Linked DNA regions of Homo sapiens: regions 1 and 2 are each linked to region 3. Evidence: promoter capture Hi-C in 16 types of primary human blood cells and fetal thymus (Javierre and others, 2016). All regions are on one chromosome and are shown on one strand. Each heading gives the region's core, a stretch centred on a gene start or on the middle of the fragment in contact. The rest is flanking DNA. Distances are from core to core; before and after follow the strand shown. Region 1 holds the start of PSMD8 (proteasome 26S subunit, non-ATPase 8). Region 2 holds the start of SPINT2 (serine peptidase inhibitor, Kunitz type 2). Region 3 holds the start of SDHAF1 (succinate dehydrogenase complex assembly factor 1).

The links. Contacts are between HindIII fragments. The CHiCAGO score rates a contact against its expected background, and 5 or more counts as called.
Region 1: a contact is called between the fragment with the promoter of PSMD8 here and the fragment with the promoter of SDHAF1 in region 3, in 4 of 17 cell types (non-activated CD4 T cells, M1 macrophages, monocytes and 1 more). The highest score is 7.1, in non-activated CD4 T cells.
Region 2: a contact is called between the fragment with the promoter of SPINT2 here and the fragment with the promoter of SDHAF1 in region 3, in 1 of 17 cell types (fetal thymus). The highest score is 8.7, in fetal thymus.

What each region holds. Positions count from the first base shown.
Region 1 is chr19:38,372,109-38,376,024 of GRCh38, reverse strand. PSMD8 (proteasome 26S subunit, non-ATPase 8) reads right to left here and starts at 1,454. Exons shown (of 7, transcript NM_002812.5): 1 at 1,064-1,454. The coding sequence starts at 1,423. RefSeq lists enhancers at 1,145-1,284, 915-1,545. The HindIII fragment of the contact is 10,393 bases long and covers 1-1,798 here.
Region 2 is chr19:38,263,172-38,267,081 of GRCh38, reverse strand. It overlaps SPINT2 (serine peptidase inhibitor, Kunitz type 2), which reads right to left and starts at 2,509. Exons shown (of 7, transcript NM_021102.4): 1 at 2,084-2,509. The coding sequence starts at 2,189. RefSeq lists a silencer at 2,485-2,804 and an enhancer at 2,961-3,878. The HindIII fragment of the contact is 1,481 bases long and covers 1,541-3,021 here.
Region 3 is chr19:35,992,843-35,996,479 of GRCh38, reverse strand. It overlaps SDHAF1 (succinate dehydrogenase complex assembly factor 1), which reads right to left and starts at 1,292. Exons shown (of 1, transcript NM_001042631.3): 1 at 168-1,292. The coding sequence starts at 1,205. The coding sequence ends at 858. RefSeq lists silencers at 836-955, 986-1,045 and enhancers at 1,106-1,185, 1,446-1,495, 1,830-2,329. The HindIII fragment of the contact is 4,511 bases long and covers 147-3,637 here.

The sequences.
Region 1 (3,916 bases), core at 205-2,704, 2.4 Mb before region 3:
ATAAAGCACTCAGAACAGGGCCTGAGCACGCAACACATGCCCATTTAAGATTACATCACATTACAATTATTAATAGCCCCACTGGGGAAACAAGGAGGGACACTCAGTGCCTGACCCAGTGGAATCACGCGGCGGTGGGGACAGGAGTACATTCCATTCTTGGCCCATCTTCCCCACAATCTATTGGGGAAGGGGTAGCTGGGCTATCCCCAAAATCTATATCTGGGAGGGGGAGGTCCAAATCTCCCCCCACAGTTCAGCCCATACATCTTTCCTTAGCAGGCTCAGCAGCTTGTTCCAAGCCACTGGATTTACACTCCCTCCCAACAGATGTTTGGTCTGAAGCACTCTGGGCCCCGTATTCTTGTTCTCTACTTGTAAGAATATTTCTTCTAGGTTCAGTCCTGCCTTCACAACTAGGCTGCCCCCTCTCCCAACAGATGCGAGCCTAAGCCCCAGATCTCTCAGATCCTAACCCAGCCTGGTCTTAACCACACACCCTCTACACAGCCCACCTTTTCAGCCTCATTCTTTTATCACTCCGGGCAGTCCTCACTTCCCACTTGGTCTTGCCTGGAATCCACCATCAGGAAAAGCCCGAATCCCAATCCTGCCACTCCGACCAGTTAAGCCTCCACGCACCAAAAATCTAACCCCTCACTCAGTTCTGCCATAAGTCTTCCAATCATTCCCCCACCACCCCCGCGTGGGTCCATTCCAGTCATCTCTCACTTAAAAAAAAAATGTAGAGACAGAGTCTCGCTATGTTGCTCAGGCTGATCTTGAACTCCTGGGCTCAAGCGACGCTCCCCCGCCTCGGCCTCCCAAAGCGCTGCGATTACAGGCGTGACCATCAACGCTCCCTGTCCCTCTCTCGCTTCTTGACGCCCTCCGAGCCCCCACTTTGGCTGTTCCAAATCTTTCACCCCATCGGATCCCCCAGCCCGCCTCAGTCTCGCTGGCACCGAGGTGGCTTCCGCGGCCCGGGACTTGGTTGGGTCCAGACACCTCGTAGCGCCTCCCACGCCCGCAACACTCGGTTTCCTGGGCCTGCCGACTTTACCTTGAGTCGACCCAGCTCTTCCCCGCACTTGCTAAGATTGGGGCTTTTACGGTTCCACTCGCCCTTGAGTTGCTCGTACATGCCGGTCGCGGCCTGCAGAACAGCGCCCGAGGTTGCCGCGGGCCCGGAGCTCGAGAAGCCTGCCGCCCCGTTCACCGCCGCGGCCGCCATCTTGCGTGATGCGGCAAGCAGACCGCCTGATTTACGGCAGCGCCGCCTACAAACGCTTGCCCGGCGGAAGTGGGGCCGAGAGGTGGAGCCCAAGGCCCGGGGCGGGGCTACAACCTGCCTCAGCCCGCCCCGGGTAGCCCGCCGTCGCTCTCGAGGTGGCGCCCTCGGAGCCCTGCCCTTAATGAACATGTCAGTTGGAGCTCCGCCTCTGTCGTCACTCAAGATGGTGACCGGAAGTTGGCTTTTGCCCTAACTGAAAATGACAGCTGTCTCAACACCACCCCCCCTACCCACCTCACGGTTCCAATAATGAACATGGCTGCCCTGGCTTCAGTCTGAGTGCTCGGGACGCTACGTAGCTGTCCTGGAGGTTCCGCCTTCGGGGCAGCGTCTCCAAGCCAAAAGGTAGCGGGTGTCGTGCCATTTGGAGAGCTGTGTTATTCTCATTTTATAGACAGACTGAGAGGCTGGGTAACCTTCCAAAGGACTAACAGCTAGGATGTGTACCTGGGGCTCCCTCTCCAGTCTTTTTCAATGCATCCTTCCACATTTTTTTCCCAAGCTTATATGAACTAACTAGTTACAAAACTCATCCAGCTCTATGGCTTTCAATGTCATGTGTAAGTGGAGGATTCACAATTTTTTTTTTTTGAGACGGAGTTTAGCTCTTGTTGTCCAGGCTGGAGTGCAATGGAGCAATCTTGGCTCACTGCATCCTCCGCCTCCTGGGTACAAGTGATTCTTCTGCCCCAGCTTCCCAAGTAGCTGGGATTACAAGCATGTGCCACCACGCCTGGCTAATTTTCGTATTTTTAGTAGAGACGTAATTTTAGTATTTTTAGTAGATGTTGGTCAGGCTGGTCTCCAACTCCTGAACTCAGGCGATTCCCTGGGCCCTGGCCTCCCGAAATGCTGGGATTACAGGCATGAGCCACCTTGCCTGGCCAGTATTCACAACTTCTTATACCAACTTCTTCCTCCACTGATTGATATTACATCTGCACATTCAACATCGCTTTTTCTCTCTTTTTAAAAAAAATTAAATTTTTTATAGAGACAGAGTCTCATTATACTGCCCAGGCTGGTCTCGAACTCCTGAGCTCAAGCGATATTCCTGCCTTGACCTCGCAAAGTGTTGGGATTAGAGGTGTGAGCCACTGCGCCTGGGCAGCACGTTTTTCTCAAACCCGACTTTCACTCTCCGTCTCCACCATTTAGAATGTCATCTCCATGAAGGCAGGACGATTTCCTTCACTACTGAATTCCCAGTATCTCAGTGCTTGGCAAATATTAGTAGACAGTCAATAAATATTTGTTGGCCAGGCATGGTGGCTCATGCCTGTAATCCCAGCACTTTGGGAAGCCGAGGCAGATAGATCACTTGAGGTCAGGAGTTCGAGACCAACCTGGCCAACATGGCGAAACCCCATCTGTACTGCAAATACCAAAAAAAAAAAACAAAAAAACCAGCTGTGCGTGGTGGCACACACCTGTAATCCCAGATACTCAGGAGCCCGAGGCAGGAGAATCGCTTAAACCCAGGAGGTCAGCTTGTAGTGAGCTGAGATTGTGCCGCTGCACTCCAGCCTGGGTGACAGAGTGAGACTCTGTCTCAGAGAAAATAAATAAATAAATGTAAAAATACCAAAAATTTGCCGGGCGTGGTGGTGCACATCTGTAGTACAGCTACTTGGGAGGCTGAGGCAGGAGAAGCACTTGAACCCGGGAGGCAGAGGTTGCAGTGAACTGAGATCGCCATTGCACTCCTGCCTGGGTGACAGAGCGAGACTGTGCTCAAAAAAAAAAAAAGAAAAAAGAAAAAAAGAAAAAGAAAGAAATTATATATGTGTTGAATTAATGAGTAAATTAATATGTGAAAGAAGTTGTGGTGGTAAAAAATGTTTTAAACAAAAATGATGGCCGGGTGTGGTGGCTCAAGTCTGTAATCTCAGCACTTTGGGAGGCTGAAGTGGATGGATCACCTGAGGTCAGGAGTTTGAGACCAGCCTAGCCAACATGGTGAAACTCCGTCTCTACTATACAAAAAATTATCTATCCAGGTATGGTGGCGGGTGCCTGCAATCCCAGTTACTCACTCGGGAGGCTGAGGCAGGAGAATCACTTGAACTTGGGAGGTGGAGGTTGCAGTGAGCCAAGATCGCACCATTGCACTCCAGCCTAGGCAACGAGCAAAACTCCATCTCAAAAAAAAAAAGAAAAAGACACAAATAAACAAAATACCACGTTGATATGGCCAGGCCAGGTGGCTCATGCCTGTAATCCCAGCACTTCGGGAGGCTGAGGCGGGCAGATCACGAGGTCAGGAGATGGAGACCAGTCTGGCTAACACAGTGAAACCCCGTCTCTACTAAAAATACAAAAAATTAGCCGGGCATAGTGGCATGCGTCTGTAGTCCCAGCTACTCAGGAGGCTGAGGCAGGAGAATCGCTCGAACCCAGGAGGCGGAGGTTGCAGTGAGCCGAGATCACACCACTGCACTCCAGCCTGGGTAACAGAGCGAGACTCCATCTCAAAAAACATAAATAGTTTCAAGTATGAGGGGAAATCCAGTCTCTGTCACTCTATCTTGGCTGGAAGTGCAGATGGTGATATTTAAATAACATGTTGACTTGGCTGATACAGGATTATGATGTGTTCACCTGGACCATGAGGTGACTCGG
Region 2 (3,910 bases), core at 1,260-3,759, 2.3 Mb before region 3:
TTACTACTACCGAGTGACCTCGGGCAAGGCAAGTAACTTCACCACCGCACCCGGCTGTTTCAAAGGTTAAATGGCACATCCCAGCTCAGAGTAAGCACCAGAGGTAGCAAGAGGCCATGTCCCAGCTCAGAGTAAGCACCAGAGGTAGCAAGAGGCCAGGTAACTGGGAGGTACATCCTAACGTAATTACTTAAACTGAAAAAGTCCAGCAGAGCTGCCAAATTCTGGTTCGAATTGCAAGAATGATCAACGTCTGCATTCCTGACTCCCAGTCACCTACAGCTGAGCCTCTCCCCACCAATTCACTTTTTTCTCCTGCCTAGGGCACAGAGAAATTAACCAGTCCCCAGAAGTTACCACAGGTGATGACTTGGTACACACCTAGCCTGCTCTTTTTTTTTTTTTTGAGACTGAGTCTTGCTGTGTCGCCCAGGCTGCTGTGCAGTGGCTTGATCTCAGCTCACTACAGCCTCCGCCTCTGGGCTTCAAGCGATTCTCCTGCCTCAGCCTCCCGAGTAGCCGGGACTACAGGTGTGCACCACCATGCCCAGCTAATTTTTGTATTTTTGGTAGAGACGGGGTTTCATCATGTTGCCTAGGGTGGTGTTGAACTCCTGGCCTCCAGTGATCTGCCCGCCTTGGCCTCCCAAAGTTCTAGGATTACAGGCATGAGCCACATCACCCGGCCTTCTTTTTTTTTTTTTGAGATGGGAGTTTCACTCTTGTTGCCCAAGCTGGAATGCAGTGGCGCGATCTTGGCTCACTGCAACATCCGCCTCCCGGGTTCAAGCACCAGCACCTGTCTATAAAGCCCTAGGCCATCTGGCTGCAGCCAACCTCTCCCACCTCCCATCCTCCTCCAGTCCTCCCCTCCTTCACGCCTGCTCCAGCCAGGCTGGCTCTGTCTTTTCCCTGAACCCAACCAAGCTTGTTCCAGCTTCAAGGCCTTTGTACTCTATTGCCTGCAACTGGACACTGGTCCCCCAGGTCTCCGTGTGGCTACTGCCTCATTCTTCATGTTAGAGCTCAGATGTCACCCTCCTCACGGAGACGTCCCCCGACCACCTGAGCTAAAGCCGCCCCCAACATCTTACGTCACCCTGTTGGTGTACTTCACCTGGTTCATTTAATTCTCAGTAACTTAATCTCATGGCAAGTGCTTTTTAAACCTTCACTAGCTCTGCCTCTCCCACTGGAATATTAGCTCTGTGAATGCAGGAACCCAGCTAGTCTGAGTTAACTGTTATAACCAGCGCCAGTGCCTGACACGTAGCAGGGCCTCAGTAAGTTTTGCTGAATCAATGAATTCTTGCTTTCAAGAGAGCTCTTTTCAAAACACGCTGGTGCTTGTCTGAAGCAGTTAAGGTTATAACAACACTTGTTCAAAGAGACCTTTCAGACCACACTTCCTTAAGAGTGTAGAAGTTTAAATCACCTTATTCACCACCGACTTCTAAGGGCCAATCCAAAGACCCCAACACCAGCTGCTCAACGCCAATACTCTCTCGAGCCTTAGCAGAGCTTCCTCTTCCCCAAAGCTTGTTTCCTTTCTTGCTCCCTCCTTCTCGGGCACCTACTTTACTGCAACTCAACTACAAAAACTTCAGGGGAGGCTCTTGTCCAATCTCCAAAGAGGCAGGGGTGAGATGGGCTTCTTCCGAGTCTAAAACGGCCACCAGGTCACCCAACCCAACCCCCACCATCTCACAGGCCTGGCCTCTCCCTGAGCTTTGGCCATGGAACTTTCCACCGCCAGGAGAAGGCTGGTCTTCAATTCGGCTCCTCACCCCGTTCTTGCCACAGGAAGGGGCAGTGCCACGCCTTCTTGGTCAATACCCCTTGACTCTTCCTCCACCCGAAGGAAACTCTCCTAACCCTCGCTCCTCCGCCCGTCTTCGCTGTCGAAGGCTCCCAAACCTCATTTCAAGGCTCAATCCTCCAGGGCTGGTTCCACCACACCCGCTGAACGCCATCAAGTAGCCCCCAGTTTCCTCCCCCGCCAGTTCTCCCTGCTCAGACCCCCGTTGACCCCCGAGCCTCTGCCCCCTGCGCCCCGCCTCCAGCCTACCCGCCCGGCCCTCACCGTGGATGCTGCGTTCTCGGTCGGCCGCCAGGACCCCAGAGAGGAGCAGCGATCCCAGCAGGGCGAGAAACGCCCGGCTCCGCCTCAGCCCGCACAGCTGCGCCATGGCCAGCTCAGCCGAGACGCGCAGGCGACGCCACCAGCCGTTGGGGTCTCGCGATCAGGTGCGGGAAGCCCCTCAACGCGCACGCGCAATGGAGCGCCTCGCGTTCAGGTGCCGACGCTCCGGGAGGGTCCGCCAGGTGCCAAAGCCCCCGGAAGTCGCCTTTCCGGACCTTCAGTGTGGGGACGCCCGGCCTTCTCGGCGCGCGATGCCTGGGTCTGCTCCTCACTCGCGCCCTCGCCGCCTGCGACACTCAACGGCCCTCAGCGCGTTCAGAGCCGCGCTACACCTCCCAACGCGCGGAGGTCGCCAGAGCCAATGGCGAACGCCTATTGGAAGCGGCTCCCGAAGGTGGCCGGGCAGGCAGGGGGCGGGGCGCACCTGGCTAGGCAGGGCGAGCTGGGCGCAGGCGCAAAGGGCAGGCACCTGCGCGGCCGCTCCCCGGCCCTGGGCGCACCTGGGCCCGCCCCTGGTGCCGGGGAAGAGGCGGGGCTTGCGCGGGCCTCGCCCCCAACAGAACCTGGCGGGGCGGGGCGGGGCGTCTGCCCGCTGAGCACCTGCCACCCTTCCCTTGGGCTTGGTGACGACGTCGGAGGAGGGCCTTCGCTCTAGGACTGGCCTCAGGGTGGGAGGAGGGGGCGGCAGACACGCGTTTCTTGGAAGCCTGTGGTTTTCTGCCCGCCTCGCCGCAGCTTTCCTGTGAATTCCTTCCTGAATTTCAAAGTTCACTGGGCTCATGCTCCAGGGCTTAATGCTGGGGACCCAGCGGTGGCCATGCCAGACTGGTCCCTGAGTCACCAAACAGGAACGGCCCAGAGTAGTGATAGCGGAAGCTTAGCACAAAGTGATGAAAGCTGTGATGGGGAAGGCCAAGCTTAGGGATCAGAGGCTGGGTCGCTAGAAAACCAGGGCATGATGGGAGCCCAGACAGCTTTCCCATCCAGCCTGAGAGAGGGCCAAGGAGGGCTTCCTGGAGGAGGTGATAGGCCCATGCAAAAACAGCCCCGAGCCCTGGCTCCAAGGTTCTCAGGACAGATATGGAGACAAATACTTAGCACAGGCAGCATCAGAATTGAGAGGAAGGAAGCCCCTGGGGAAACCCAGAGAAGACACCTGACCAAGCCTGGGAGTCAAAGAGGGCTTCCTGGAAGAGGAGTTACGTGAACAGACTCTAGAAAGGGGAATGGAGTGGGGCAGGCACACGAGTAGAGGATAGCCAACAAGGTAATCAACATAAATGCATTATTATTGAAAACACTTTTAGATTATTTCTTTTTTTTTTTTTTTTTGAGATGGAAGTTTTGCTCTTGTTGCCCAGGCTGGAGTGCAATGGAGTGATCTTGGCTCACTGCAGCCTTGACCTCCTGGGCTCAAGGGATCCTCCCACCTCAGCCTCCCAAGTAGCTGGGACTACAGATGTGAGCCACCACATCCAGCTAATTTTTAAATTTTTTGTGGAGACAGGGGACTTGCTATGTTGCCCAGGCTGGTCTCAAACTCCTGGCTTCAAGGGATCCTCCTGTCTCATCCTTCCAAAAGTGTTGTATTACAGGCGTGAACCACCACACCTGGCCTGAAAACACTTTGACAGTGCTATACAGAAAAGGAATCAGGGGCTGGGATGGAAAATAACAAGAGATCTTTTGAATGGGGTGGCGGAGGAAGGGCTTTGTGAGGGGTGGCTTTGATAATGAACTCTGAAGGATGATAAAGGCCAAGGGACA
Region 3 (3,637 bases), core at 43-2,542:
AATGTGCCAGTCTACAGGGCTCCGGAAGGAGTCAGATCCCCACACCTATCACCTCCCAGATGGTCCCTTCCAGGTGTCTGTGTGCGTGTGTGTGTGGTGGCAGGGGGGCTGGGGGTGTTTCAAAAATCCTGAAATATATAAAAGCTTTAAGACCACCAACAGGGAAGTAGACATATCCCCAATTTTATTCCCTTTGTCCAACATTCCGAGAGGGAAGGGGCAAATGAGTCAATGTTGCCCCTCAAAACCATCAAGTAGGGGCCTTTGGGGGTCTTCAGTTGATCAACCAGGGTGATAGACCCCTACCCCTTCCTCATGGTCCTGGCTTGTCACAATTAATGGGGGAAAGTTTTCCAGAAGGGGATTCCGGGCTTCTCACCGCTCATCAGGGCACCTTCCCAAAACGTTCTCAGCAAAAAGTCTGCACTTCTCAGAGTTAAATACAGGAGAGGGGAGACTCCTTGAGGAGCCAGAAGTGGGTATGTTCTCAGGGGTCAAGAGAAGGGCGTCTCAGGCTCTCCCTGTCCACCGGGGGTCGTCCTGGCTCCCCGTACCTTCGGGCAAGTAGCTCTTGGCTTGACACTGTCCAGCCCGCCAGCGTCCCAGGCCGCCCCAAGCCCTCATGGGGGAGGAGCACCGACCTGTCTCCAAGCATCGGAAAAGGCGGGCCTCCCTTGCCGTCCATCACGGGGCTCTCTAGGCCCCCTGCGTCGCCAAGGAGGAGTCTCTGACATCCCCAATTCGTCAAGCTAGTCTCTTAAGACCTCTCACCTTAGGCGGGTTCCCCAGTCCCCCCATGCAGTCAGGCGAGCCTCCTGGCTCCACCACGCCATCGAGCGAGTTCGGCTCTTCGCCTGTCACCGTCCGTCGGGGCGGGTCTCCGGTGCCCCCGTGCTGTCGTGGGGGTTCCTTGGACTGTCGCCGTCGTCAGGCTGGCAACCCACGCCGCCAGGCTCCCCGGTCGGGGCCCGCGGGCGTACGAAGGCGCCCATGGCGGTGGCGTGGCCCGAGCGTAGCAGCTGCAGCTGGCGCCGCCCGCGGCGGTACAGGTACTCGATGCGCAGCACGTCGGACCGCGGCAGGCCCGCATGCTGCCGGAACTCTGCCCGCACTCGCGCCTCGGCGCCCGGCTTCCCACGCCCGGCGCGCAGCAGATCGCGGTACAGGCTCAGAACCTGCCTCTGCAGCCGGCTGTGCCGGCTCATGACCGCGGCTAAGCAGAGACGCTCAGCGAACGACCTGCGAACCGCGGAGCCGCCACACAGCCAGCAAAGGCCAAAGGGCAAAGCCACAGCCACTTCCGCCCAGCGCTTCCCTTGGCCTCCAACTCCCGCCTCCCGCCATCCGGCGCTGCCGCGTCTGACTGGCTGTCGTTGCAGTTACGTAACAGCCGGCTGGGAGAAGTGGGCGGAGTCGCTGGTCGCGGCCTCCCACGTAGGGGACGTGTGTTCTTGAGGGGACAGCAGTTCTGGGGATCCTGGCACCGCCTGGAGGGCGTTATGTGTTCGGACTCCTAGGTCTTGGGTTGGAGGGAACAGAGGGTCCTCACCTAACTCCTGCATTCTGGGAGAAGAGGAAGCTAGGGGTTTTTTTGTGTGTGACGGGGTCTCGCTGTCGCCCAGGCTGGAGTGCAGTGGCGCGATCTTGGCTCACTGCAGCCTCGAACTCCTGGGCCCAAGCGATCCTCCCACCTCAACTCCCCTAGTAGCTGGAACCACAGACGCGCGCAACCGCGCCCGCTATTTATTTATTTATTTATTTATTTATTTATTTATTTATTATTATTATTATTTGCAGAGATGGGTCTCCCTATGTTGCCCAGAATGGCTCGAACTCCTGGGCTCAAACGATTCTCAGCCTCCCAAAGTGTTGGGATTCCAGGCGTGAGCCACCGCGCCCGGCTACCGGTTCGGACTTTGGGTCCCAAGGGCACGGGGCACTGGGAGAGACGCCGGGCACAAGCGTGCTTTTGCCGTCAGTTACTGATTCAAACCATCTTGGGAAGCTCCGTGCGTTCCCTCGTCCGGGGCAGGTCTGTGTCTGGGGTCCCAGCCCTGGGCACGTGCAGAGGGACGAGACCCCGTAGGGAAATGGCTCTCGGCCGGTTGGACAGGCTTCTCGGGCCAGGGGAAGACAAGCAGAGAGAGTGTGGGCGCCAAGCCCCCAGAGGCAGCGTGTGGCTCTAGGAGCTGGGTTGGTCGCGCCCTCTGCGGGTGGGAGTCGGGGCAGTGGACAGCGGTGTTTGGGTCCTTACCGACTGTTAAAGCCCGGAGTCCGGGACACCCTGAACAGTCGACTAGACTGCAACCCCGTTGTCCTCCCAGGAGCTTTAGGTGGTAGGCCGCAATGCCGTTGTTGTCCCCGCGGGCCGCCTGGAGGTGTCCTCGTAGCGCTAGGGAGGCCCGCAAGGACACAGCATCCTCGGGCCCCACCAGCACCGGAGCTTGGGGGACCCCTCCACCCAGCGCGCAACCGCGGCTCTGCACACTTGGGCCGGCAACCAGCTGGGGGGTCCATTCCCCTTCAGAGAGGAGAAGCTGGTCAGGGGCGGGGATTAGGCTTGGAGTCTTGGAGTCAGGGGAGAATCACAAACCACTGTGAATCCTGCCTGGCAGGTGTATGTATCTATCAAAAATACATGTCCTAGAACGGTGGCTCACACCTGTAATTCCAGCACTTTTGGAGGCCGAGGCGGGCGGACCACCTGAGGTCGGGAGATCGACACCAGCCTGATCCACATGGTGAAACTTCTGCCTCTAGGTTCAAGTGATTCTCCCTACCTCAGCCTCCCCAGTAGCTGGAATTACAGGTATGTGCCAGCACACTGGGCTAATTTTTGTATTTTTAGTAGAGGCGGGGTTTCACCATATTGGTGAAACTACAGCCTTGATCTCCTGGGATCAAGCAATCCTCTCGCCTCAACATGTCCAGTGGTTAGGATTACGTGAACATCCCACCACACCCGGCTAATTCTTCTTTTATTGTTTTTTGTAGAGACAGAGTCTCGCTGTGTTGCCCAGGCTTCACTCTGGAATTTTAAATATTTATTTTTTGTTTTGTTTTTAGAGACAGGGTCTTGCTATGTGGCCCAGATTGGTCTTGAACTCCGGCCTCATCCTCCCAAGTAGCTGGGATAATAGGGATGAGCCACCATGCTGGCTTGTACTCTGGAATTTAAACATCTATCTTTTTCCTGTCAAATGACCCTTAATCTCCAAGACAACTATGTCAATCAGCCTAGGGGGACTTTCTTTACTTTCCAGTGGACTCAAGGAGCTGCAAAACCTCAAAGGGAATACTATTGCCTCCTGCCCAGGGCCTGTCAATGGTTTTCTGGTTACAGTCTCTCAGTTTGTCTTTGGGGAACTGGCCCACTCTTATTCTAGGGGATTTCCTGGGTAATATCCCTGCCCTCTGGCTCTGGCTACAGCTCTGTTACATGCCCAGGCCTGGCTACTTAGAGACAAATCAGAATATCCCATCCCCTGACCCCTGTAATTGTTTAGGGATGGGCAAATGACCTCCACTGGGACAATGAGAATCAGACCCGGGACTTCTGTTGAAACTGTGAAGAAAGAAGTGCTGTCTCCCCACTGGGACTGCTAGACTGTACATCATCAACCTGGAGCAGTGGGAG